Regions from separate parts of the Homo sapiens genome. Here all the other regions are linked to region 1. The links are contacts of gene promoters, found by promoter capture Hi-C in blood cells and fetal thymus (Javierre and others, 2016). All regions are on one chromosome and are shown on one strand. Each heading gives the region's core, a stretch centred on a gene start or on the middle of the fragment in contact. The rest is flanking DNA. Distances are from core to core; before and after follow the strand shown. Region 1 holds the start of TMEM150C (transmembrane protein 150C). Region 2 holds the start of SCD5 (stearoyl-CoA desaturase 5). Region 3 overlaps SCD5 (stearoyl-CoA desaturase 5). Region 4 overlaps SCD5 (stearoyl-CoA desaturase 5). Region 5 overlaps SCD5 (stearoyl-CoA desaturase 5).

Region 1 (5,277 bases), core at 1,218-3,717:
TCAGTCTTACACCCATATATGATTTAAAATATCTAAGGGTATATTGAGTACATGGTGGACAACAAATTTTAACAGATGGGATACCAAGAAAAAGGCACAGAGAAGCCCATGTTTTGCTTGTACTCTCGAAGCTTCGCTCGAACTCTCATGACATTAACAGAATCTGCTTATAGCAACCAACTCTCCTTCATGGCCAGCATTTTAACACACAATTTCAGCTGGTAATATCACTGTCAGGAATGTAATTCATTTTGCTTTTTGGGTTTATTTGGAGGGACATTTTGGAGATGAAGGCGGCGGTGATTTAGTGGTGCTGAGGAATGGCACTGAGCCTGCGATCCTCACAAACTCAAGTTGGTTTTTTTTAGGAAACATAGGCCTGGCTCTAAATGAAAATGAAAATGTTGAAATAAATTAAACCTGGTGCATGGATTCTCAATCCTTCCACAAAAAAATGGGGGAGGGGAAAGTAAGGGCATTTTACAAATTGGGAGCCCTATTCCCAAGAAAGGGAGTGATATGGCATGGCCATGTCGGAATCACCTGCGGTTCTTTGTCAAAATACCTGTGTTCTGGTTTCCCCCGCCACCTCCAATCAGGTTTTGACTCTGGGTCTGAGGTGAACCCAGGCATCATTTTCTAAAGCCCCCACTGGTGATTCTGATGTGAAAACAGAGTACCACTTCTGTGTTTGAGGGACAGCTAATTCTTTGGCTGGATCTACTTCTGAAAGAATGAATTGGAAGATCTAGCTAGAGGACTCTTTCCGTTATTGCAGAGAGAAATGAATGGCATGGGGACAGGGAGTAGAGAGAGGAGGGGTTCATGGATGGGCCTCAAGCAATCTTACCTTTGGGGGAGTCAGACCACTTTGAGGGTCTGATTAATGTGTAGTTACTCTCCTCAGAAAAGTACACATAAGCTAATTCCCACAAAATTGAGCATATACTTTCAAGGGAGTCTAGACTAAGATTCAGTTTTTGCTTTTGCTATTTTAATTGAATGGATAACAGTCCCACTCATTAAAATAAGGAAAACAAGAGAAGGCAAGATCCCTGGTCTCAGGAAGCTTACAGTCTAGTAGCCAGGAGAAAACAGTAACAAGAAATCAACATACAGAAAAAAAAAAAGAATCAATATACACATAGTAGACAATAATCACAAGAATTGTGGGGAAGGGAGAGTTCTGGAACCGAACGTTAATTGCAGAATTTGAATATGCTGAATTGGAGAAGATTCTTAGAAACACCTGGTTGGGCCGGGCGCGGTGGTTCACGCCTGTAATCCCAGCAGTTTGGGAGGCTGAGGCAGGCGGATCACTTGAGGCCAGGAGTTTTGAGACCAGCCTGGCCAACGTGGTGAAACCCCGCCTCTACTGAAAATACAAAAATTAATCGGGCATGGTGGCGGGCGCCTGTAATCCCAGCTACTCAGGAGGCTGAGGCGAGAGAATCGCTTGAACCCGAGAGGCAGAGGTTACAGTGAGCCGACATTGCGGCACTGCACTCCAGCCTGAGCGACAGAGCAAGACTCCGTCTCAAAAAAAAAAAAAAAAAGAAAGAAAAGAAAAGAAAAGAAAAAGAAAAAGAAAAAGAAAAAGAAAAAAAGGGAATGCCTGCTTGTGTAGAGACAGCAGTTTAAAGGAGACAGGTGTGCTACGGAAGCCCCCAAAAGAATAGAGGGCAGACTGACAAAGGCCGGTTGATAGAGAGCCACCTGTTGGAGGCCAGAGAGGTTGTGTTTGGAACCCAGGCTCATGATGAGCCTAAGATAAAAATGGCATTGATCCATGCTGCTGCTAGAGGTCACTGACATGGTGCCATGGGGTCCCATGGTAGGTTGGGGGTCCGGGATGGGGGAAGCTGTCAAAACGCTGATGAACACAGTTTATGACGGACTCAGACGAGACCCAGGGAGGAAAGCTGCAAGCTGGCGCTGGGAGGTCGGCCTTGGTGTCTGCTGTTCATTGCCAGGGTCCGAAGTTGGCTCTGTGTTTGTTCAATAGGATGGAAAAAAAAAAACCAAAAACCGCGGGACAGCGCTGAGTGGAGGAGAACTACATTCAGTCAATGGGCATGAAAATGAATTTTAGCTGCTTTGTGCAAAAACCCTAGGTGTGCGGACGAAAGAGAGCCAGGCAGAAGGTTACAACAGGTCAGGAATAAATAACCACCAGGCGGAGGATCCAAGATTCTGTCCTTCCTTTTGTTGGATGAGGAGCGCCAGGCAAACGCGTCCACAAAGGCTTCGGAAGGAAGCGGCTCGCCCGCCCACACCCGGCTCCTGCCCCGGGTGACTATTAGGGGCCCCGGGGGGGTGGCAGAAGCCCGAGACCCAGGGGATCAACTCTCCCCGAAGGCCTAGCAGCGGGGACCCCAGAATAAGTCGGGGGCGGGCCCCGGCGCGGCAGGAGGGGGCCGGGCGGGCGGGTGAGCAGATCCCACCCCTTCCTGAAGGAAGCGCCCTACCCGCCGCTACTGCTGCCGCCGCCGCCACCGCAGCAGGTCACAGCCCCTCGAGGCGACAGCGGCCCCGCCGCACCAGAGCAGGTAGGCGCGGCGCCCCCTCCCCTGCCTGGGCCCGTCGCGCAGCCAGGGGGCGTCCGGCCCGGCCCCGTGCGCAGCCCGCAGGCGGAGACCGGGGACGGCGGGGGCTGCAGCGCGGCTGGGGCGGCTGGGTCCGCCCGGCTGCGGGGCCCTGCTCGGCTGCGGCCCCCTCCCATAGCGTCCCGGGCGCGGGGCCGCCCGCCCGAGCCCTCCGCGGGCGCACGCTCCCCGGCAAGTCCAGGAGTCGGTGCCGGCTCTGCCCCGCGACCTGCGAACGCCCGAGCCGGCGCGCCTCGGTCCCCGCCGCCGCAGTGCCGCCAGCCAGCCCGCCCGCTGCGGCCCCGGCCCCGGCCCCGGCCCCGTCCTTTGACAGGTGTCCCCACCCGCCGCCCCATCATCTCGTTATCGGGTGGACTCGGGTGAGAAGCGACCCCAAGTTTGACCTCCCGGTCCCTGTGCCATTCTCCCTGCACTTTGCGGTTAGCCAGGTCAGGCTGGCTCGGGAAGCAGGGGATCTGGGAAGGAGGCACTAACTTGCTTTGCCCTGTGTACCGCCCTCCACTCTAAATGCACAGTCTTCCTTCCTTTCCTGGGCGCACACTTGGGAAGAAATGGGATTTTTGGTTTTTCGGCGGGAGGCCGTGGTAGGTGGGTTACCTAGGCTCTTTGGTAATCTGCTGCAATAAAAAAGTGATTAGCTTTGGGTTCTGGAGAGAGTCCTTGAGTGGTTTTCCCCTCCTTAAATGAATCAAATGGAGTATGAGAGGGTTTTCCCATTTTAAATTCATGCTCCTTTTTTCTCTACTCATTCCTTTCCTCCACCCCTACCCCCACAGCACTTTATGATGTCCCACACATTTCACTGATCTTTTTGGTCAGGTTTATTCCGGCCAGACCGCCTTTCACGGTTGGGCCAGGATTGTGACCGCATGTGGGAACATAGCTCAGGTAGAATGGAAGTCCATCTTCCCGAGTGAACCCACTCCGATGTCCTACATGCGAGGTCCTGTTGGGGAACCAGATATACCAATGCCATGTTGAAAAACAAAACCAAACAGTTATTGGATCTAAAACAATAACAAAGCCTAAATGGCAGGATCAGTTTCTGCATCTTTCTCTGCTTGAACCAAAGACATTTTAATAGTGCAGGGCTATAACTCCATTCTGGGCAGCAGTTCATCGAAAGGATAGTTGAGTGTGGATTTATAAACTCCATGGTAGCAGTCATTAAACTGACCTACTTAAAGTTTCCTATTTCAAGGAAAAATTGTTAGGCCCATATATGTGACCGATCAAAGAATTTTAGTCTCAGCTCTCATGTATCAAATCCCAAACTTTTTCTTGTATGTGTTCTAGAGACTCCATGTTTCCAGGATTAACTATAGCTGTCATCTATTAATGAGCTAGAAATGTGAGTTTAATCTTCAAGGCATAAGCGTAGGAATTTTAATGGTGTGTCCTTTATACATTATTTAATAAATGTTTTGCAAGTCCCCCAAGTTGGAAGCTCACAAACTGGACATGGTAAATAAAAGGGTAAAGAAGTTTTGCTAACAATAATGACTAGTTGATAGATGTTATGACATTCACAAATATATTAAAGTATTTGAAAAACACTTTAATGCATGTTTATTATAATCTGCCATTAGCTGAATGCAATCTGTTTGGATTATTTAAATTGGCATTTAAGTCTTCAGAGCAATTGCTTAATTCATGCATTTCTTACAAATACCTTTTCCATGTTGCTTTGTGGGGGGATAATTTGCTCTATGGAGTAATTTTTTTTTTTGCGTGAACACAATAATGCGTTCTATTTAGCCTTTGTTGTAGAACTACCACAATCATGTTCACAATGACCTTGCAGGGGTTTTTGGGCTCACTTTATCTGCTTTGCAATTGTCAAGAGAGAAGGCCCTTTGCTTTACACTCTTGTCTGTCTTCCTGCTTTGTCTCGCCTGTGACCCACACCTCTTTAGTACAGTGGGTCAGATTAGCAGGGCAGCCTGGAGTCATGAGAGAGGAAAAGCTAGCTGGACCCCGCAATCTCAGCCATTTGGTTTCACTGCAATCTGGCCATTTGGGATCAGTTCAGTAACCAATTAAGCAAGACAAGCACTGACAAGATAATGTATTACTTCTCAGTCATCCCCTTTCACAGAAGAATCTGTAACACTTAGAATCAGCACTACGGTGTGATTAGGTTCTGGTAAGGGTCCAATGAGATGTGTGCTGAAGTTCCCAAAACATTATAGGGTCCAAGTGTTATTGAATCCAGGTCTAAGTTCATGAAAAGCGTAGGACTAGACACAGGTGTGTAATAAGTGTGTCCCTACTTTTTTTGTTTGTTTGTTTTTGAGGCGGAGTCTCACTCTCTCGCCCAGGCTGGAGTGCAGTGGCACAATCTCAGCTCACTGCAACCTCCGCCTCTTGGGTTCAAGCGATTCTCCTGCCTCAGTCTCCCAAGTAGCTGGGATTACAGGCGTCCACCAGCATGCCTGGCTAATTTTTTTTTTTTTTTGTATTTTTAGTAGAGACGGGGTTTTACCATGTTGATCAGGCTGGTCTTGAATTCTTGACCTCAATTGAGCCACCCGCCTCGGCCTCCCAAAGTGCTGGGAATACAGCCAGGAGCCACTGTGCCCAGCCCCTGTCACATGGGTCCGTGTGAAGAGAGTCCACCAACAGGCTTTGTGTGAGCAACAAGGCTGTTTATTTCACCTGGGTGCATGTG
Region 2 (5,277 bases), core at 734-3,233, 240 kb before region 1:
CTGACCTAATAAGGTTCTCAGGGGGGACAATAAGGAACTATTTTTGCTTCCCTTAGACTCCTTGTATGTAAGTTTGATACCTAATTAAATTTTTTTTTCCGATAATGGACTGTAACTTTCTGCCCTTCCAAGGTCATAGTCAAGAGGTTACATTTGTTTGCTCCATCTTTGCTTCTAGATGGGAGCTCCTTTAGGGGCGGGACCAGACTTTATTCATCCTTGGATCCCCTGTGCCCACTGGTCCTGGCACATAGCAGATGCCCAATAAATGCCAAATAAATGACTGAATGTTTAGAATGAGGGTCTTTACAGCATTGAGCCTTTCCAATAACCCGGAGAGAGGCTTTTGGCCGAGCAACTAGTCTACCCCAGAGAGAAAGGACAGTCTGAACTAGAGAGCCACAGGGAGTAGGAAGGTCTGCTGGGTATGGGGAGCAGAGGGAGCATGAGAAGAAAACGTGGTTCATTACATAGCCCAGGTTGAACAGACAGATGAAAATCGCACCCTCCAGCTTCATGTTCCACTGTCTGACTGGTCATTATATAGGGCCGACATTTATCTGGTCTCCAGGCAAATTCTATAATTTCAGCTCCGTCTGAAGCAACACAGTAACACTGACTCAGTGGCCTAGATTCCACAAGTGCCACATACCTTGCTTTAGCTTAAATCAGGCATTGTTTTGTCTGGCTGCTAGGACTGGCTCAGGTCTGCTAACAATAAGATGCTTATGCATGGCCCTTTCATGCAGTCAGTCTTTTAAATTTTTTTGCCTCTCTTGAAATCCTGGAAATGATTCCTAACAACGGTTAATCTAAAAATCAGCTGGTTTTGGTCAATATAATGGCGCCCCTTCGAACTCACATTCATGGAATATGGAAGCTGGAAGGAAGAGTAGAAACTAGTTCTGCTTCTCAGGTAAGGAAATCCGTGCCCAGAGAGTTGGGCTGGGTTCCAGCCAGTTAAAACTAGAACTCAGAGATGCTGTCCCGAGCCCTTTTACTTCTGCTGCCTGCCCGCAATTGCGGTCACACCTGCTTCAGACACTTCCAGCTCAATCCTCCCTCCATTTTCTGTGCAACTAGGGTCCTCTCTGGAGAGCTCTTAAGCCATCAGCTCTAGGAGAGAAGTGGGCAGACACAAATCTTTCACAGGTTAATTTTCCTTGGAACATTCTGGGTGATTTTTTTGTAAAGCCCGATTCTCAATGGTGTTGATTTCAGGGTAGTGTTCCTCACTGAGAGCTAAGGAGGCGTTGCAGAAGTGCGCTGATTAGCTAGAATTGACCATAAACAGAGTGGCGCGGCGGATGGGCAAAGGGTGGGCAGCGAACTGGCCCAAATCATCTGTGCATCACCTCACAAGCACCAACTGAGCACTTACTGTGTGCCTGGGTAATCCACAGCTGCCTAATTAAGAACGAGCAGCTGCCTTCCAACCCTCCCCTGGCCCGAGGAGCCCTACTAACTGGCAGATTGAGGGACTTCTGATTCTCATCGTGGGTCTGGCCTTAACTAGGGTCGCGACTCCAAGCAAGTATTTAAAATTCTCCAACCCAGGTGGCCTGAGGCTTGAGAAGAAATAAAAGGCTTCTCAAAGGGATGACAGTTTCGGGAAGTTTTTTTTTGGGGGGGGGACTGGAAAAATACCATAAAAGGCATTTTGGGGGTCACACACACACAAGAGCAGAAGCGCTGTGAGCCGCCCTGCAGGCTCCCTGCCCCGGGAGCCACCTTCCACCCGCCCCCGGGCGGAGGCGGCCAACTCCCGCCCAGCGGGCTCCCCAGTTCGGCCCCGAAAAGCCGAAAGGGGGGCGCCTTTGTCTATAAGCGCCGCACGGGCGCTCCTGATTGGCTGTAGCTAAGCAGGGCTTTCTTCCGCGCTCCTTCGGAGCGCTCCCTCCAGCGTCGCCGGCCCCGTTCCATTTTCACAGCTCCTCCTCCCCGGCCGCGCGCCCCTCCCGCCCCGCGCGCGCCTCCTCTTTCTCGCGGCCGAGTTCAGCCCGGGCAGCCATATGGGGGATACGCCAGCAACAGACGCCGGCCGCCAAGATCTGCATCCCTAGGCCACGCTAAGACCCTGGGGAAGAGCGCAGGAGCCCGGGAGAAGGGCTGGAAGGAGGGGACTGGACGTGCGGAGAATTCCCCCCTAAAAGGCAGAAGCCCCCGCCCCCACCCTCGAGCTCCGCTCGGGCAGAGCGCCTGCCTGCCTGCCGCTGCTGCGGGCGCCCACCTCGCCCAGCCATGCCAGGCCCGGCCACCGACGCGGGGAAGATCCCTTTCTGCGACGCCAAGGAAGAAATCCGTGCCGGGCTCGAAAGCTCTGAGGGCGGCGGCGGCCCGGAGAGGCCAGGCGCGCGCGGGCAGCGGCAGAACATCGTCTGGAGGAATGTCGTCCTGATGAGCTTGCTCCACTTGGGGGCCGTGTACTCCCTGGTGCTCATCCCCAAAGCCAAGCCACTCACTCTGCTCTGGGGTAAGTCCCGCCGGCGCCCCCTGCGCCCCGGCCTCCGTGGCCAGGCCGCGCTGGGGCGCGCGAGGTCGCCGCTCGCCCCTCGGCTGCGGGCGGTGCGCAGCGACCCCCGGTCTCCCCTCGCCTCCCGCTGCGCGCCGCGGCCCCCTTGGCATCCAGTTTTCCGTCCCTTGGGACGGGCAGGTGTTTCTGTCCCAGTATTTCAACTTCCGCCCCCCCCCCGCCCCCACCCCGCCGCGGTCTGCCTGAGGAAGCGCATTTGCCGGCTTCCCGATGGAGAGCCGGGGGGGACCCGGAGTCCTGCGGTGCCACCGCTGTGCGCAGAGGCGCGCGAAGGGAGAGGCTCGGCACAGGCTGAATCGGCTCCCAGCGAGGGAGGACGGGCGGGCGATTGTGTCACCTCTGCGGTCCCTGGGGCTCTCCTATCCCCCCCATCACCTCCGCGGGTCACGGACCTTGGGGACAGAGATGAGGACAAGTAAGGGAGTTGGACCGGGGAGGAGAGACCCGGCACAGGATAGAGTCTTGGTTTACGCGCACCAGATGGAAGATACCGGTTCCCCTCTTGCCTCTCCAAGGCCCCTGTCCCTGCCCCCTCCGCAATCTTCTATGCCCATTTGCAGTTCTCGGTGAAGTTTCTCGGTGAGCAAACCGATCCCATGGCGAGAGCGGTCTGACCCTAGCACGAAGCTCCGACTGTGGCTGTGCAGAGCCTTCTCCAAACCCTGTTCCCATGTGGCCAGTGGGAACCTGTGGCTCTCCTGGTACCCTCCTTCCGTGCACCCCCACTCCTGCCAGTAGGGAAGGGAGCCCGGGCGCCGACCACCATTCCCCTTCCCCTGGGCCCCAGGGACTGCGTGCCCACCCTACACGACCCCAGTCGTTGATCTTTGAACCACTTCGCAGCCGCCCTGGCCGCAATAACTGGTTTTGGCCTCCTTTACTGAAGCGGCAGTAGCCAGGACAAAAGGCACAGGCATTGATATGCTGAGTGAGAATTTGACGAGGTAATCCAAGATGCCCTTCCAGCTCCCGTTTCCCTGATCTCTAGGGGCGGGCAGGAGAAACACAACCTACTTTTATTTCCAGAGGGGAAGAGGAAGGAAGAAAATAAGACCTCTTTCTACAGGGCTTTTTTGGCATGGTGCCAGCTGCAAATGCCTAGGTAGATAATGGGGCCACTATGGTTCCAAGCCTTCCCTTGAAATCCTGCAGTCCCTGCTCTTGGAAGTAAACCCATCCAGAAGTGGGTACCTCTTAGGGGGTGTGGCTCAGGGAGGGCATAGCAGAGTTGACGGATGGTGAGAGAGGTAGGATCTTTGGGGATCCCTAAAGCCTTTAAAGTCTCCCCAAAGCTCTGGGAAATCTCCTGCTTCATCTTTCCTTCTCTCAGTGCACCTCCTCATTTCTGTGTCCTTTTCACCATCACCTTTATGTGTTGGTTTAATTCTCCAACTGACTGTAGACTGTATGATGTTCAGCTGTTGCTTCATCAACACACTCCGACACTGCCAACCAAAGCCCTTATTGCCCAGAGTTCTCCAACAAGCTCCTCTCTCCCCCCTGCTTCCAGAGGCAGGGCTGGGCTTGGTCCTCAGAGCCTGGTGACCTCTAGGGGATTGAGGCTTATCTTTAATAGCTGTGGTGTTCAGAGAGTGCTCAGGGAAAAGTGAGCACTTAAAATATTATCTTACATGCCTAGGGCTCACTGGCTCCACTTCTTACAGCCTCTGAGCCCCAAGACCCTGGCACTGGACCAGGAGCCACAAGGACAAGGCCCCTCTCTCCAAGTTTGCCAGGTCACCTCTGCCCTTTCCGGACCGCTCTCTGTGGTGAAGATAGAACCTTTGTTCTGAAAGATCTTGGCTTAGAGGACACCTCCCAGGCCCCAGTGTCCTCTAGCTTCCTTAGAGAAGTTAACACACTGAAGGAATCTGGTTTCCCCTTTGTGACTCATGTCCCAAACCCCATTCCATACCTTCCTGGATAAATTCTGCCTGTGCTTCATCTGCTATTTCCTAAGTCTTTTTTTTTTTTTTGAGACAGAGTCTCGCTCTGTCGCCCAGGCTGGAGTGCAGTGGTGCGATCTCGGCTCACCGCAAGCTCCGCCTCCTGGGTTCACACCATTCTCCTGCTTCAGCCTCCCAAGTAGTTGGGATTACAGGTGCCCGCCACCACGCCCGGCTAATTTTTTGTATTTTTAGTAGAGATGGGGTTTCACCGTGTTAGCCAGGATGGTCTCAATCTCCTGACCTCGTGATCCACCCACCTCAGCCTCCTAAACTGCTGGAATTACAGGCGTGAGCCACTGCGCCCGGCCCGTAAGTCTTAATTCTCTCCCCACCTTCATTGCCTCCCTAAAAAAAAAAATAGCAGACAATGGTAGATATTAGAGTTTTAAGGTCCAAAATTGTGACTTAGAAACAGTCCAAACAATGGGTCTTATCTGATGAATAGCTACTGCCTCTGCTGCTTTTTTTTTTTTTTTTTTTTTTTTTTGTGAGACAGGGTCTTGCTGGAGTGCAGTGGCACGATCATAGCTCACTGCAGTCTCAGTCTCCTGGGCTCAAGCAATGCTCCCACCGCAGCCTCCCAAGTAGCTGGGACTACAGGTGTGCACCACCACACCTGGCTATTTTCTTTTTCATTTTTTTGTAGAGATGGGGGTCTCACCATGTTGCCCAGGCCGGTCTTGAATTCCTGGGCTCAAGCAGTCCTCCCAAAGTACTGGGATTACAGGCGTGAGCCACTGTACCCAGTCTCATGAATAGCTTTTGAGGGAAGAAATGAGGGACAATCAGAGACCA
Region 3 (5,277 bases), core at 1,640-4,139, 210 kb before region 1:
AATGTGCTCCTCACTCAACCATGTTCAGTTTTTCCCTGCTCTCCTAGACAGTCTTCACCTATTTTTAGGATGCTAACTTAAACTCGGTCAGGTCAAATTGACACAACATTCACAGATGCCGAAATGATCTTTTTTTCACATGCAAACTGGGGAGGCCAAGGATATGATTGCAAAAGAGTTAAGGTTTAATATTCATGGATAAGCTCTCTTCCCCATGAAAACACTATGTGGCACTTTACACCAGAGCACTTGGTCTAACAGACACACAAACTCCCCACCGTATCTGGCACAGATACGCTCCACATGCTATATTACGTATAATTTCCATTTTTGTTTTCTCCAGAGAATAGTTTTTCTTCAGTCCTTAAGGACTCAGCTTCTTACATGGGCTTTGGTGGAGGTTGTGGGGCAGCACGTGCAGATGTAAATCGGGATGAAGGTATTTGATTCTTTGTCCTTTCGGCCTTCATGAGATGAAGTCCTGACTACCTTGCTGTGGATGGCACAATTCACACAGTGATGTAGCTTCACACTTAGAAAGCACATAGGCGTCGAAGATGCTTGCTTCAGAAATGTCTCTGAAAGCTGCAGCCTCTATGTTTCAAATGATGAACTTTTTTTTTTTTCTTTTTGACAGGGTCTCTGTCACCCAGGCTGGAGTGCAGTGGCATGATCACAGCTCACCGCAGCCTCAACCTCCCAGGCTCAAGTGATCCACCAGCCTCAGTCTCCTGAGTAGCTGGGACTACAGGCATGTGCTACCATGCCTGGCTAATTTTTAAATTTTTTCTAGACGGTCTCACTGTGTTGCCCAGGCTGGTCTTAAACTCCTGGCCTCAAGTGATCCTTGTATCTCAGCCTCCCAAACTGCTGGAATTATAGACATGAGCCACCACACCTGGCCACAAACTTCTTAATAGCCTGGTCCTTGAACATGCATCAGGTGCAGTTCTTGCAGCAAATAGGTTGCACGTGGCATGGCCCTTTTGGGCATGACCGTCGTTTCTTCTTTCTCTGTCATCTTGGAAGTGAGGACTTGAGCCCCAGATGTTCTTACTCCCCCACTTTCCTTTATCTGCCCTCAACATGCATACACCTCACCTACACCTATGCCGATGCTTTCCTAGGCCATACCCAAGAGCCATTGAACAAGCCATTGAACTGAGCTTCCATAGCTCCAGCCCTGCTCAGAATCCATGCCTACAAGCAGCTCCCAACCAGGGCGTGAGTGAAATAAGGAGTGAACAGGAGAGGGAAGCAACTGTGGTCCAGTGAATCTGGGGGATATCCACAAACTCATCCTGACCAATGCTTGCCACCTCTTTCCCAGCAGCTGTTCTCTAGCAAGAGGCAGAAGCAATGGCTTTGCTTCTGTCCACCCTGTGCTGGCTGAGCTGGAGGTGCTAATTAGCAGTGAAGTGGCAGGCTGTGGGGGAGAGGAAGGGAGCCAACGGTCTGAACTCCCTGGCCTAGAGAATCTGGAACATGCCAGAGGAAAGACTGGCCGCTGCAGAGAGTGGGTCCTTGGTGAGCTGAGGGCAGTCAGGCAGGGCAGGATTAGTTCCAGGGAATGGGTTTAAGGACTTCTCCCCTGTTGGTGCCTCTAAAGCTTTGCTGATGGTCAAATTCCAAATTCCTCCATCAGTCTCAAAGCTCTTATTAGTCACTTTAATTGGAATCCTGGGAAGACAGAGTGGGTGGAAGAGAAGCGGGCAGGGTGGGAGAGAAACAGAACCAAGAGACTGGGTCTATGTAACAGTTTTCTTCAGGCAGTAAATTCCTCTTACATGCTGGGAGGAGCAAAGGGTGGGGGAAGAGGGAAGGTCACTTTTCTCCCAGGGAGAAGTGGTTTGTGGGTTTCTGTGCTCAAAACCTGGGGCTACTCTTTCTTTTCGAGGAATTTTATCTTACATTTTATAAATTAAGAAGTACTTGTTCATTGTTGACAGCCTAGAAAACACAAGGAAGCAAAAGCAAAAGCAAAAAAGTTACTTGTATCTCCCCATTTTAGAGATACTATTATTAACATTTTGGGCTATAGCCTTTCAGCCTTTTTTCTCTATGCACAATTTGTCTCACTGTCTGCAATTATACTATAACCTTGTTTTGTTAGCTGTTTTTTCATGCGTTAATGCGTCGTAGACATCTTTTCATGTCCATAGATGTGGATCATGGATTTTTTTTTAATGGCAGTATCGTATTCCAACGTTTAGATGTACTTAACCCCCTATTGTTGAAAATTTAGGTTGTTTTTCGTTGTTGTTGCAGTGTTGATGTTATCAGGCTACATCCTTGTAGCTTCATCCTCATGCACATCCTTAATAATTTCCTCAGAATAAATTTCTAGATGCATTTCCATAGGATGTATTTCTATGTGCTTTTTTTTTTTTTTTTGAGATGGAGTCTCATTTTATTGCCCAGGCTGGAGTGCAGTGGCATGATCTTGGATCACTGCAACCTCTGCTGCCTGGGTTCAAGCAATTCTTCTGCCTCAGCCTCCCGAGTAGCTGGGATTACAGGCATGCGCCACCATGCCAGGCTAATTTTTGTATTTTTAGTAAGACGAGGTTTCACCATATTGGCTAGGCTGGTCTCAAACTCCTGACCTCAAGTGATCCACCCGCCTCAGCCTCCCAAAGTGCTGGGATGAGCCACCACGCCCGGCCTCTATGTGCATTTTCAAGGCTTTATACCAGTGCTCTCAACCAGGACTGAGCCCTCACCCCCAAGAGGCATTTGGCAATGTCTAGAAATGTGTTTGAATGTCACAACTGGAGGGGGAGATTGCCGCTAGCATCTAGTGGATAGAAACTCCCCACATCAAGGAATTATCAAGTCCAAAATGTTAATAGTGCCATGGTTGAGAAACTTTGCTTAGACATGTGGGTATTTTAATTCTTTGTAATATGTGTGGGGCTGGAGATTCTAAGCCTTGGAAGAACACGAGGTGGGGGTACTCAGTTTAGCTGGCTGAAGCTCAGCCAAAACCAACCCAATCTCATCCTCCCCTCCACTTGCAGAAGGACTTGGGTGGCCCTGCTGATTTGGAGTAGCGAAATGACTGATGTGTGCTACTTGGAGCCTGTCCCTGCATCTAGGAGACAAAGAGAGGCAGGATGCCCTGGAAGGAGGTGCAGAAGTGAGAGAGAGGCAGAGAGAGAAGGAATGGGGAGGATGTGTGGTGTGGTGCTGAACAATATAATCCTTGTTGCAATTAAAATCCTTGTTGCAACTATGTCGTCTTTAGGGACTTGAAGGCCACTTCCCAGCACTGAGGACCCAGGCAGGGAGGACACATGCAATTGCAGAATGCGGGAGGAGGGAGTGACCAGAAAGACTCTATTGTACCCCTCGAAGCTGGCATAGGGAGCATGAAGTCCTGTGTCCTGGGGTGCTGGCCAGGGCCTGCAGGATCAGGAATGAAAAACATCAGTGCTCCCCACACCATGCATTGCAGTTCTATGAGATCTGAAATGTTGCCCTATCCATTAAGTCTCCTTCTCAAGTAAACCTATGACTCATTGAACTAGCCACTTTATTTGTTCATCTTTGGAATGCATCACAATCATTCATTCATAACCCATATAATTACTGAGCACCTACTAGATGCCAGGCACTATGAGAGGCAATGAATAAAATAGAAACACTTTCTGCTGTCATGGAGGAAACAGTCCCTGACAGTTCATCAAGCAGCAGAAATTCTATGAAGAGGACATACAGGGTTCAGGGGAGCACAGCGGGGGAGCACCCCACCTAGGGCGCATGGGGTCCTACAAGAGGTGCTTCTGCTCTTGTCACGGGGAACCTTTCTGCCTCCATGTGAGAAAGCCCAGGCCAGCCAGTAGAGAGAGAGGCCCAGCCATCCCTGCTGAGACTAGACATGTATGAGGCCATCCTAGACCATCCAGCCATAGCGAGACCATTTCAGATGGGAAGACCCACCCTGACAACCCATAGAATTGTCACAAATGGTGAATTGTTGTTGCTTCAAGCCACTGAGTTAGGGATATGTTTGTAAACAATCAAAGCTAACCAGCACAAGTCATGTGGCTGCTCAAGAGTTATTGACAGAACGGTGGGGTGCTATAATTGGCCAGACCTGGGTCAAATGCCCACTTATATGCCCAAGAGACTCTACTCTGTAACTGAAGACATGTTGGGAAAGCTTACCTGGCAGATCCAAAGGATACTTGTCACTGTCTGATGTAGTGACGCATGGACAAAAATGGCCTCAGCATCTTCCAGTCTGTTCTTTCTCCTGTATTCTCAGTCTTGGTTAGTAGCACCACCTTCCATCTGATTGCTAAAGCCAAAAATCTCTGTCATTCTGGACTCCTTTCTTTCCCTCAACTCACACATTTATTCAATCACTACCTTCTGCTGAAATCGCCATCAAAATTTTTTTTATTATATCCCTGGATATTCTTTGCCCTTCGAGACTCAGCCTGGGCTTTACCTGACCAGGAAACTTTCCTGAAACCCCAAGTTGGGCTAAATAACTCTCTTGAATGCATATCTGTACCTTACTTAACACATTCTATGGCTGCTTTTGATCATGAGTGTGGCTCCCTCACTGGACTGGAAGCTCCCTGAGGGTAGGGACTGTTCACAAGATGTGGTTGGGAATGATCATGCAACAGATGTGTGTGGAACTGAACCAAATTTCTCTGACACAGTTTTCACCTTTTTTTATTAACTTAGATTTCAGAAAAAAGGAATGAACTCAAAGCCTTTTGTCCCTGAAGGATTTAAGGGGAAGCTGGTCGGTAGTGGCCTGCCAGGGTTAATGAAGGGATTCAGGAGGCAGGTGGAGAGGCAGGCATGGGACCATGTGGTCTGTGGCTGTAGATTTGAACACTACAACCTCCCCAGCCTCCCCAAACTGTGTGATTTTAAGCAAAATATTTACTTCTTTGAGTCACCTTCTCCTATCTGCAAGAATACAGTAACTGTATTTTTCTAGTAGGGTTGCTGTGAAAGTTGAACAAAGATAACATAGGCATAGCGTCCTACACCGTTGGTGGGTCCTTAATGAAATTAGTTTCTTTCTTTTCTTCTTGAAATACCCCCTTGTCTTGCAGCAGGTTCCCTCAGAATCAGAGCCTGAGAGAACACTTTGAGTATAAGTAGTTTGCTTGGGAGGTGATCCCTGAAAGGAGTGAGAAGTGAGATGGAGATGAGAAAGAACCCAGGGTATGTTAGTAAACCAGCTACCAGTCAGCTCATTGGCTCGTGCCTGTAATCCCAACACTTTAGGAGGCTGAGGCAGGAGGATTG
Region 4 (5,277 bases), core at 947-3,446, 160 kb before region 1:
CACGGAGGCTGGGACTGATGGATGGACCATAACCTCTGATTTGGTGATACAACTCCAGGAGTGGGACCTGTATACTCATAGAGGGTGAGGATGAGTGTGTTTCTGAATGTTTGAAATATGTTTAACTCCACAAGGGTAGACCAGGGTACACACCTTTAAGGAGCATACATACTCTTAGTATAGTGTTCTATGCAGATGGCATCCCTTAGTGACCTTTTCCAGAGACAATGCAGGTGGTGCAGTTGTACAGGACCAAGGCCTTGTCCACTGCATATCATTGTTACACCCGAATCCCCTTACATCCTAAAGTCAAGTTTAGGGTTTCATTTGAACCTGAGTGGAGGAGAAATGAATTCAGAATCTGATGGGGAAACCTCTCCTTACTTAGATATGAACCCAGGAACCTCAAGATGTGAGATGGGGTGGACTTTTCTGTAGCACACCTCTATATTATCCTGTCATGATTATTTAAAAAAGAAGCTTCATTCCATTAGAGCTGGAACAGCCCCCACTCTGCAGGATGAGCTTGGGCAGCAATTGACAGGTGCCCTTCAGAACTTAGAAAATGTAGAGGAGAAAGGAGATGTGTCTCCTTTTCTTGACCAATTAGGACAGCTTTGTGACAGCTCCAGGGGAAAGGAACAGGACGAAGAGGGCTGTGTATGAGATGGGAGCATGCCAAGAAGCATAGGCTTTATCCAGTCCAGCGCGTCTCACACTGCACACTGTGGCCTCACAGGGGGTGTAGAACACTTCAGTTTGGATCGTGACCAACATTTAAAGCATAATAAAATAGAAAGTGTCAGTGCATTGAGTTTAGTAAGAATTAAATATTGTTTATGAAAATTGTATATCAGTCATATTTGTGTGTGTTCTAGATTGCAACGTGTATTATATTACTTAGTGCAGGTCTCTATTTAAAAAAAAAAAAACAGCTGCTTTCTTAACAAGCAGAGTGAAAATAACTAGTCTTTTAATCTCAGTGTCCGGCAAACTCAAGTTTGCCCAGTTGATAAAGTCCCGATTAACCTTGCTGTAAAAATCCAAGGTAATTGTTTTTTTTTTTTTTTTTTGAGACAGAGTTTCGCTGTTGTTGCCCAGGCTGGAGTGCAATGGCACAATCATGGCTCACCACAACCTCCATCTCCCGGGTTCAAGCGATTCTCCTGCCTCAGCCTCCCGAGTAGCTGGGATTACAGGCACGAGCCACCACGCCCGGCTAATTTTGTATTTTTAGTAGAGATGGGGTTTCTCCATGTTGGTCAGGCTGTCTCGAACTCCTGACCTCAGGTGATCTGCCTGCTTTGGCCTCCCAAAGTGCTGGGATTACAGGTGTGAGCCACCATGCCTGACCCAAGGTTATTGTTTAGGAACAAACATGGTGGGAGCAAAAAGTTGTTGGGTGTTCCTCTGTTTAAGAGCCTTCTGGAAGGATGAAGTCTCCACTGGGCTGACACAGAGCCTCTGCGGCCTCTGAGGCCTGTCAGTGGAGACCCTTCAGGCGGTTTTTCCTCACTTAGGTTCCATGACTCACCTTGTCAGTTGAAATCCTGCTTCCTATGGGATTGGGCCAAAATCAAATGCATCTTTCCCAGAGCTTTCTTTTCTTTTTTCTTTTTTTTTCTTTTTTTGAAACAGAGTTCACTCCCATCACCCAGGCTGCAGTGCAGTGGCATGGTCTCGGCTCACTGCAACCTCTGCCTCCCAGGTTTAAGTGATCTTCCCACCTCAGCCTTCTGGGTAGCTGGGACTACAGGCACATACCACCAGGCCCAGCTAATTTTTGTATTTTTTGTAGAGGTAGGGTTTCATCATGTTGCCCAGGCTAGCCTCGAACTCCTGGTCTCAAATGATCTGCCCACCTCAGCTTCCCAGAGTGCTAGGATTACAGGCATGAGCCACCACGCCCGGTCCAGGCTTTATTTTCTAAAGGAATCACGTTTTAGAATGTCCATGGGTGAGCTAATGCTGTGACAGTAACATATGGAAGAAAAAGTACACTCATGCTACCCATAGCTGTCATTTTTGTTTGTTTGGTGAGACAAGTGGAAGGTGCTGGTATAGTACTGTGAGTGGTTGATAGTGAAATGAAAATAAAACTCAAGTATGGCTTTTACCCTCTGAAAGTTAGCGTGGACGGTGGTGACAGAGTGATAGCTTTCTTTGGGCTTGAACTGAATTCACATTCAAAGTTTGATTATCACCATCAGGAGCCTGTACCCATGAGCCCCATTAGCCCTTAGGAAAGCCTAACACCATCTAGATTTCACATCAGCTGGAAAGGTTTATTTCTGAAGTTCAGGGGAGTTATTTATTAAAGCAACAAAATATTCCGAGGATATAGATTATGGGAAAACTCCTTACTCTGGAACTATTCTGACTTGGTTTTTCTTTTTTGTTGTATTTGGCCTTCAGAAAACCCTTCCTGAATTCTTCCTGGTTATCATCCAGGTTGATAACCTTGTTGGTCTTTAAGTGTGCAATTTGAAATATAATCAACATATGTCTACCATTTTCTTTGCATGGGAGAGAGTGAAAATTGTTTCTTATTAATAGTTACCTTTATTATGTTCATTAGGAAAAACAAAATGCCATGTTCCATTTGCTCTCAGAGGCAGTGGAGGACAGGCCCTGGGGCCTAAATGTCTAGGTTCGTATCTTCCTGCTGCCACTAGCAAGCCCCACTGCTCACAGGCACAACGACAGCAGTTTTCAGGGTATCTATCACCTGTCTACCACTTACCAAGCACTTGACATTTCTCATCTTTAGTCCTAAAAACAGTTCTTCCAGCTTTGTTTTGTTCTTCCCATTTTTCAGATGAGGAAACAGACTCAGAAAGCATTAGGGAAGAGCTAATCACGGCCACCATGTATATCTTTTTATATTATTCTTTTAATTTGATATTGCCTTTCCCACTTACTCTAGGGCCTACTTATTTGTGGGCAGGAAGAGGAGGTATGCATGTATTTAAGTTTAATCAGTTTGGTATTAGAAAGTCTGTACAAAGCAAGGTCTGTTTTATTTATTTATTTTTTCTAAAGATGGGGGTCTCACCATGTTGCCCAGGCTGGTCTCAAACTCCTGGGCTCCAGCAATCCTCCTGCCTCAGCCTCCCAAATTGCTGGGATTACAGGTGTGAGCCACCATGCCTGGCCTAAAGCAAGGTTTAGCCCGTACTTTCTCATGCTGGCCATCTATGTTCTGGTTCTAACGTTTGTGTGGTTGGTGTTAATGTTAGACCTAAAAAGAGAAAGATGAAATTCGGTATTTGTTATCAACTGTCAAAGACACTTGTTTTCCCCAGACTTTTATTATGTACATTTTCAAACATACAGAATTTTAAAGAATAATACAGTAAACACCCATATATCTACCACTAGATTCAATAATTATTAACATTTGCCATATTTGCTTTATTTACCTATAACTTTTTTTCTCAGCCATTTGAAAGTAAGTTGCAGATGTTGTGGCCATTTACACCTAAATGATTCCATACACATCCCCTAAAAATAAGGATATTATCATAACCTAATCTAATATCTTGTCCAGATTCAGATTTCATGTGTCCTCAGACTATCTTTTATAATTGTTTTTTGTTTTGAGCTAGGAGCTAGTCAGGCTTTCACATTGTATTTGATTGTTATTTGTTTTCATTGTCTTTGGAACAGACCCTCACCCTTGACATTGACTTTTTGTTTTAGTTTTCTGTAGAATGTCCCACATTTTTGTGTGATTGTTTCTACCTTCCCTCTGTTTTCTGTAAACTGCGAGGTGAGTCTTACCGGCATGGTTGAAGTTAAGCATATTTGGCAAGAATGCCTGAAGGGTGATGCTGTGTGCTTCCTATTCATCATCAGAAGGTGTCAATTGCCTGCTTGTTCCACTTTAAAGTTTTTTAATTTTTAAGCTTTATCACGCTTATCAAACATATCAGAAAGCAAATAATCAGCGCATCTTATGGTAATCGACAAAACTGAACAAGGTAATTTTATTTACAGAAAAAATTTTAGCAAAAAAGTATATAGTACAGTCAATTGAAATGCATGTTCATTCTTCTTAGGTATACAAGAAAGTAGAAAATAAAAGTTCTCTGCTGCCCAATAAGAAAAAACAAGTCTTTTAAAAGACTTGAATGGAAATCAGACATTTAGGGATTTGTGAAAAGAACTTCTTGGTGCGGATCCACATCTACATTTAGAATTCCACTTAGTTATTTTTAAAAATAAATAAACGTCACAAACAAGACATCACAAAGAACAGAGAGCCCCTAGTGCCAAAAATTGCCAGGACCAATATGCTATTGAAACAACTGGTAGAAATGTTACAGACACCTCTTCACTATGTAATGTTCCTGTAGTTCTGAGGTGAAGGTAAACCAGCAGGAGAGAATCCTTTTTTTTTTTTTTTTTTTTGAGACAGAGTTTCGCTCTTGTCACCCGGGCTGGAGTGCAATGGCGCGATCTCGGCTCACCACAACCTCTGCCTCCCAGGTTCAAGCGATTCTCCTGCCTCAGCCTCCTGAGTAGCTGAGATTACGGGCACCTGCCACTATGCCCGGCTAGTTTTTGTAATTTTTGTATTTGTAGTGGAGACGGGGTTTCACTACGTTGGCGAAGCTGGTCTTGAACTTCTGACCTCAGGTGATTTGTCCGCCTCGGCCTCCCAAAGTGCTGGGATTACATGCGTGAGCTACTGAGCCCAGCCGAGAATACTTTTTTTTTTTTGAGATGGAGTTTGGCTCTTGTCACCCATGCTGGAGTGCAGTGGTGCAATTTCGGCTCACTGCAACCTCCGCCTCCCGGGTTCAAGTGATTCTCTTGCCTCAGCTCCTCAGTAGCTGGGATTAGAGGCACCTGCCACCACACCTGGCTAATTTTTGCATTTTTAGTAGACACCTAGTGTTTCACCACGTTGGCCAGGCTGGTCTCGAACCCCTGACCTCAGGTGATCCTCCTGCCTTGGTCTCCCAAAGTGCTGGGATTACAGGAGTGAGCTACCATGCCCAGCTGGGAATACTTTTTGTAAGTAGCTTTGGATTAAGTGATCTTTCACATTTTTTCTAACTATACCATCTTATCAAAAACATAACAATTACTTATTACTGAGTAAAAATAGTAGTAGCTTTTAATATTCACAACCAACCACTCTAGTGCTGACATAGGAGGCTACAAACTTAAAATTTTTTGATCATAACTAGATGATCAAGATGGAGCCCTTTTTGGGGGTAAAAATTCCTTCTACTCCATATTTGACACTGTTAAGAGGATATAAAGGAA
Region 5 (5,277 bases), core at 1,106-3,605, 140 kb before region 1:
GCTTATGCATGGTACTGGGATGCTACAAATCAATAAAAAGGCTGCCTCCTCTCAAGTTATTGATTCTTCATGTTGCAGCTTTCCCCCCTGACACCATTTCACGTGTGTCCCTGTTCAGGAGAGAAAAAGCATGGGGGGTGTTTGAAAGCTCAGGGACCATTGTTGACGTTGTCCCTGCTTGTGTCTTGCAGCCTACTTCTGCTTCCTCCTGGCCGCTCTGGGTGTGACAGCTGGTGCCCATCGCTTGTGGAGCCACAGGTCCTACCGGGCCAAGCTGCCTCTGAGGATATTTCTGGCTGTCGCCAACTCCATGGCTTTCCAGGTGAGGATGGAGGGTCCTCTCTGTGTTGGGAGACCCAGTGCAGATGGCAGTATGGGAGGAGGGGAAAGATGGGCTGACACCCCTCCACCCCTGTCCTAGACTCAGTGTTCAGGCCCCAAGCACGCCCAGTCTGTCCCAAGTTTTTATCTCTTTGTAGCTTTTAGATACAGTAAAATGTCCCCTGGGGGGGTTTTGTGCCCTAAGGCATGCTGAACTACTGAGGGGAAAGGAGACTCCTCTATCCAGAGCCCATGCTGTGAACATACCCTGAAAGCCTCAACATTTGTCCAGCCCTAACCAGGGGCCAAGTTCTGTGATAAGCACACTGGTATGCATATAGTATTTGATCCGCATAGTAGCCCTGTGAGCTAGATGTTACATGTGTCCCATTTTACAGATGAGGAGAATGAGGTTCAGTGAGGTTAAAGAACCTGCCCAAATCATATGCCTAAAAAGCAGTACATTCAGGGCTAGGCAAATGCAGGCCAGCCTGACTCCAAGTCATTGCTCTTACAACACCTAGTCCCGAGGTTGCCCTGCGAGGTCATGGTGGAAAGACTATTCCATCTGAAGTTTGAAGACGCAGGGATTTTACTCTGATGGGTGCTGGCTGTGAATCACTTCCTCAACTTCAGTTTCTTAATCTGTAAAAATAAGAACAAAACTTCATTCTCAGGGTTGTTATAAAATCAATGAAAACTGCAGGGAGCTATAAAAATGTAAGAGACGGTCATCACTGCACTAGGATTGGGCCATATTCTTTAAGACTATCCCAGTCCTAGACCATTCCCCACCTCCTTGGGTACTTTCCTTGGGTACTTTTGGTTTGGTCATGGATCTCTGTTTTCCCAATTCCTAATCTGAGTGAGAACAACTTGTTTTCAAAACTTCTGCCCACATTATGAGTGTAGATGATTCTGGGCCCCGTGCATTTTCACTCATTGGGAAGGAATGGTGATTGCGAAAAGTGCTCTAGAGTCCAGGGAGACGGGTGACCCAGGAGCTTCCCTGTGGCCCTCAGACACACAGCTCATGTGGCCACCTCTGCCATGGGCCTTCCACTCCTACGAGACAACCTGATGCGGAATATTTCACTAAGTGCTCTTGTAGCTCAGAATTCATTTCCTTATTTTAGGCATCTCTTACACAGTTTGACTTTTCATAAGGTAAATAGGATATAACACAATAGGTCAATTAGGAAACACAATTGGTGGTGTGTATATATACTGCTTGTCATTCAAGCACATCAGGTATTAGTACTGAGGTCCTAGGAAATAAGCTATTAAGCATAAGGGAGCAGTTGGCAGCTTCCTGGTTCCATGTTCATTTGTTCACCACTGGCAGTGTGAACTATGCTGCACTTTATTTTGACTTCAGCCATCTTATTTCAGTGTTGTGCTTTCAAAATAATAATTGACTTAGGTCTTAGATGACGTTGAGGACCTAACTTGATAATTTTCATTTCTTGTGTTCAAGCAATCCTTTCTTTATAGCCTCCAATGACACACTCATGTAGTTATAAAACATTTCTATTATTGGACTTTTTTTCAAAGATAAATAACTTGTAGCTGAAGCCTAAAACTCTGATTTTTTTTCTCATGAAACTACTTGTTTATAACTCAAAATTTGAAAACCTAAGTTTTCTTAACAAAACACCACATAACAGAATATTAGACTGTGATTTTAAATTTATTTTAGGGAGAAAGTACACTGTAGATGGAAGTACCCAGGTCCTAGAATAAATTCTTTGCTCTGCCATTTGCTAGATGTGAGCCTTTCTGCAAGTATCAGTTCCTTTATCTGCAAGGGGAGGATAATAATATTTGCCTCACAGAGTTGCTAGGAAGATAAAATAATGAATAAAAAGTACCAAGCTTATAGTAGCAATCGGTGAATATTGTTCTCCCCTTCTCTTTTATGAGAATTGATATATTGTTTAATTGGTTTCTGTATGCTAATGTCTGTCATATAGAAAACAATTAATGATTGTTAGGTAAATAAAAAAATAAATGAACAGCTTTAAAATGTAGTTTTAGAAACCATCAAATTTGAACTATGCATACTTTTTCAAGGCCCACATTTGTAGTGGATTTTTAAAATTCATTCAACGAATACTTATTGAGCACCTACTATGTGGCAGACACTGAGAAGGCACAGTGAGAATAACAATGAGCAAAGAGTCACAAGCTTCGCCTTCATGGAGCTTTTCTGTCTAGTAGGATATTAGAATCCCCAAAGTTTCCCAGTGGAAATTTCAGTGTTTCATGGACCTGGGGTTTTATAACAATGTCACTTAGACCTAGGTGGAAGGTACCTCTCTAAGATCAGATTAGGGCCAGTTTCCATAACATGCAGAACTGTGTCAGTGGGAGAGAACTAGAACAGAACTAGAACTAGTCAGTGTCTAGAACAATTTATTTAAACCACTTAACCCTATGAGGAGAACAACCTGGGGAAATGAAAAAATGCTATGATCTGCCAGTGTAGGATGGTGACTTACAACCCTGACTTAATGCAGTCATTGATTTAGTTTCCCTTTGATAATCCATGGGTTTTTAAAGATAGTTTCAAAGATTCTCTCTCTTCTCTCCTTCACCGGAATGGTCATGCCATTGGCCAAAATGGACAAGTCATGCCATAGCTGTCTCTGTTTGGGATCAGCAGGGTTTTTGCTAGATGCTACAAACAAGACCTTGAGCATTAAGAACAGTATTCTTAACGTTGAGACTTAAACATTTTAAACTCCTTTTCTTTTTCTTCTATAGAAGATGTATGTATGGGGCTGAGAGGCAATAGTAGGAAAGGTGGAGATACTTTTAGTCTAAAAAAATGATGATGGGCTGGGCGTGGTGGCTCATACCTGTAATCCCAGCACTTTGGGAGGCCGAGGCGAGTGGATCACCTGAGATCAGGAGTTCGAGAGCAGCCTGGCCAACATGGCAAAACCCCGTCTCTACTAAAAATACGAAAATTAGCTGGGCATGGTGGTGCATGCCTATAGTCCCAGCTATTTGAGAGGCTGAGACAGGAGAATCACTTGAATTCGGGAGGCAGAGGTTGCAGTGAGATGAGATCACACCACTGCACTCCAGCCTGGGCGACAGAGTGAGACTCCATCTCACAAAAAAAAAAAAAAAAAAAAAAAAAAAAAAGATGATGATGGGGCAGGAATGCCTGATAAGGAGCTATAAAATCCTCTGTCCCCTCTGAACCTGAACGCTTGTATTCAGCAAAGATCTCCTGAGTTCCTCTATGGTCTATCCTCCTTCCTTGCCAGTAGGGTGAAGTCAACCTAAAGACTGCTTGCAACTTCCTTATAATTTGCTCCAAGTCAAAGATGGACCCAGGTGAGAGATGCCTGTTCTCCAAGAGTTAAGTTTTCACAAGGAAGAGCCAGGATTCAGATTTGTGCTGTCACGCTCATGCATCTGCTTCTGCTGGCTACATCTGGGTCTCTCACAGACCCAGTCCAACCAAAAGCACCTACTAGATGCTTCAGCCCACTCCCTCGTGGCTCATATTTCCTTATCAAGTCATGGTAATGAGGCATTGGATTGAGAGCTGGAAGAGAACTAAAGGGATTTAGCTTAAATTCTCATATTCTACAGAGGAGTAAACAGAGAATACCAGTGACTTCTCGAAGTTCACACAGCTAATTAGTGGATAGACAGACTGAAACCCCATTGTCCTGATTCAGGCCACCCACTGGATATTCTTATGTGCTGTCCTACAGCATGATTTCTAAACAACATAGAGTTTAGTCTTTTTTTTTTTTAATCCTCTCTGACAGTCTGTCTTTTAATTGGTATATTTAGACCATTCACACTTAAAGTAATTATTGATATAGTTGGACTAATATCTACCAAGTTACCAATTATTGATATAGTTGGATCAATATCTACCAAGTTTCTGTTTTCCATTTGCTGCTCTTTTTCTTACTTTTTATTTGTGTATTCTACTCTTTTTCTATTTTTATGTGGTTTTAATGGACCATTTTGTATAAGTCTATTTTCTGTCCTCTCTTAACATATGAATTATACTTCTTTTTAAAAATTTTTATGGATTGCCCTAGAATTTGCAATATACATTTACAACTAATCGAAACCCACTTTCAAATAACACTGTACCACTTCATAATAGTACCTGCAGTAGCACAAGGACCTTCTAACAGTGTATTCCCAATTTCTCCCTCCTGTCTTTTACGACATTGTTGTCATTCATTTTACGTATCCATAAGCTATAATCACTAAACAAATTGTTACTATTCTTATTTTGAACAAATTGTTATGTGTTAGATTAAGAATAAGAATAATAAAAGTTTCTATTTTACCTTCACTTATGTAGATCCAGGTTTCTGATATAATTTTTCTTCTCTCTGAAGAACTCTTTTTACCATTTTTTGCAAGGCAAGTATACTGGTGACAAATTCCCTCAATTTTGGTTTGTCTGAGAATGTCTTTTTTTTTTTTTTTTTTTTTTTTTTTTTTTTTTTTTTAGAGACAGGGTCTCACTCCGTCACCCAGGCTGGAGTGCAGTGGAGCAATCATGGCTCACTGCAGCCTTGAACTCCTGGGCTTAAGCGCCCCTCCCACCTCAGCCTCCCTAGTAGCTAGGACTATAGGCACATAGCACCACACCCAGCTTGAGAAAGTCCTTATTTCTACTTCATTTTCGAAGAGTAATTTTGCTGAGTACAGAATTCTAGGTGGGTGGATTTTTCTCTTTCAACACTTAAATATTTTATTTCACTCTCTTCTTGCTTGCTGGTTTCTGAAGAGAAACCTGGTATAATTCTTCTCCTCACTCCTTTATAGGTAAGGAGGGATTTTTTCCACTCTGGATTCTTTCAAGATTTTCTCTTTGTCTTTGATTTTCTGCAGTTTGAATATGATGATACCTAAGTATTAGCTGGGCATGGTGTAAACCCTAAGTGTAGGGTTTTTTGGTATGTATCC

The links. The method cuts DNA at HindIII sites, captures the fragments that hold promoters and counts their contacts. A CHiCAGO score of 5 or more calls a contact.
Region 2: the fragment with the promoter of SCD5 here is called in contact with the fragment with the promoter of TMEM150C in region 1 in 6 of 17 cell types (erythroblasts, M1 macrophages, endothelial precursors and 3 more); the score reaches 6.7 in erythroblasts.
Region 3: a contact is called between a fragment that was not itself captured here and the fragment with the promoter of TMEM150C in region 1, in 1 of 17 cell types (M1 macrophages). The highest score is 8.1, in M1 macrophages.
Region 4: a contact is called between a fragment that was not itself captured here and the fragment with the promoter of TMEM150C in region 1, in 4 of 17 cell types (M2 macrophages, M1 macrophages, M0 macrophages and 1 more). The highest score is 10.1, in M2 macrophages.
Region 5: a contact is called between a fragment that was not itself captured here and the fragment with the promoter of TMEM150C in region 1, in 2 of 17 cell types (M1 macrophages and M2 macrophages). The highest score is 6.2, in M1 macrophages.

Annotation. Positions count from the first base shown.
Region 1 is chr4:82,559,178-82,564,454 of GRCh38, reverse strand. It overlaps TMEM150C (transmembrane protein 150C), which reads left to right and starts at 2,467. Exons shown (of 8, transcript NM_001080506.3): 1 at 2,467-2,549. RefSeq lists an enhancer at 2,242-2,741. The HindIII fragment of the contact is 8,598 bases long and covers 1,072-5,277 here.
Region 2 is chr4:82,795,502-82,800,778 of GRCh38, reverse strand. It overlaps SCD5 (stearoyl-CoA desaturase 5), which reads left to right and starts at 1,983. Exons shown (of 5, transcript NM_001037582.3): 1 at 1,983-2,473. The coding sequence starts at 2,242. RefSeq lists enhancers at 825-1,541, 1,542-2,259, 3,236-3,757 and silencers at 1,628-2,047, 2,378-2,427. The HindIII fragment of the contact is 16,836 bases long and covers 1-5,277 here.
Region 3 is chr4:82,771,206-82,776,482 of GRCh38, reverse strand. The region is part of intron 1 of SCD5 (stearoyl-CoA desaturase 5); the gene reads left to right. Among named protein-coding and RNA genes, the nearest start is that of MIR575, 20 kb to the right of the region's middle. The HindIII fragment of the contact is 2,556 bases long and covers 1,612-4,167 here.
Region 4 is chr4:82,722,214-82,727,490 of GRCh38, reverse strand. The region is part of intron 1 of SCD5 (stearoyl-CoA desaturase 5); the gene reads left to right. Among named protein-coding and RNA genes, the nearest start is that of MIR575, 29 kb to the left of the region's middle. The HindIII fragment of the contact is 3,428 bases long and covers 483-3,910 here.
Region 5 is chr4:82,700,328-82,705,604 of GRCh38, reverse strand. It overlaps SCD5 (stearoyl-CoA desaturase 5), which reads left to right. Exons shown (of 5, transcript NM_001037582.3): 2 at 192-322. Among named protein-coding and RNA genes, the nearest start is that of MIR575, 50 kb to the left of the region's middle. The HindIII fragment of the contact is 313 bases long and covers 2,199-2,511 here.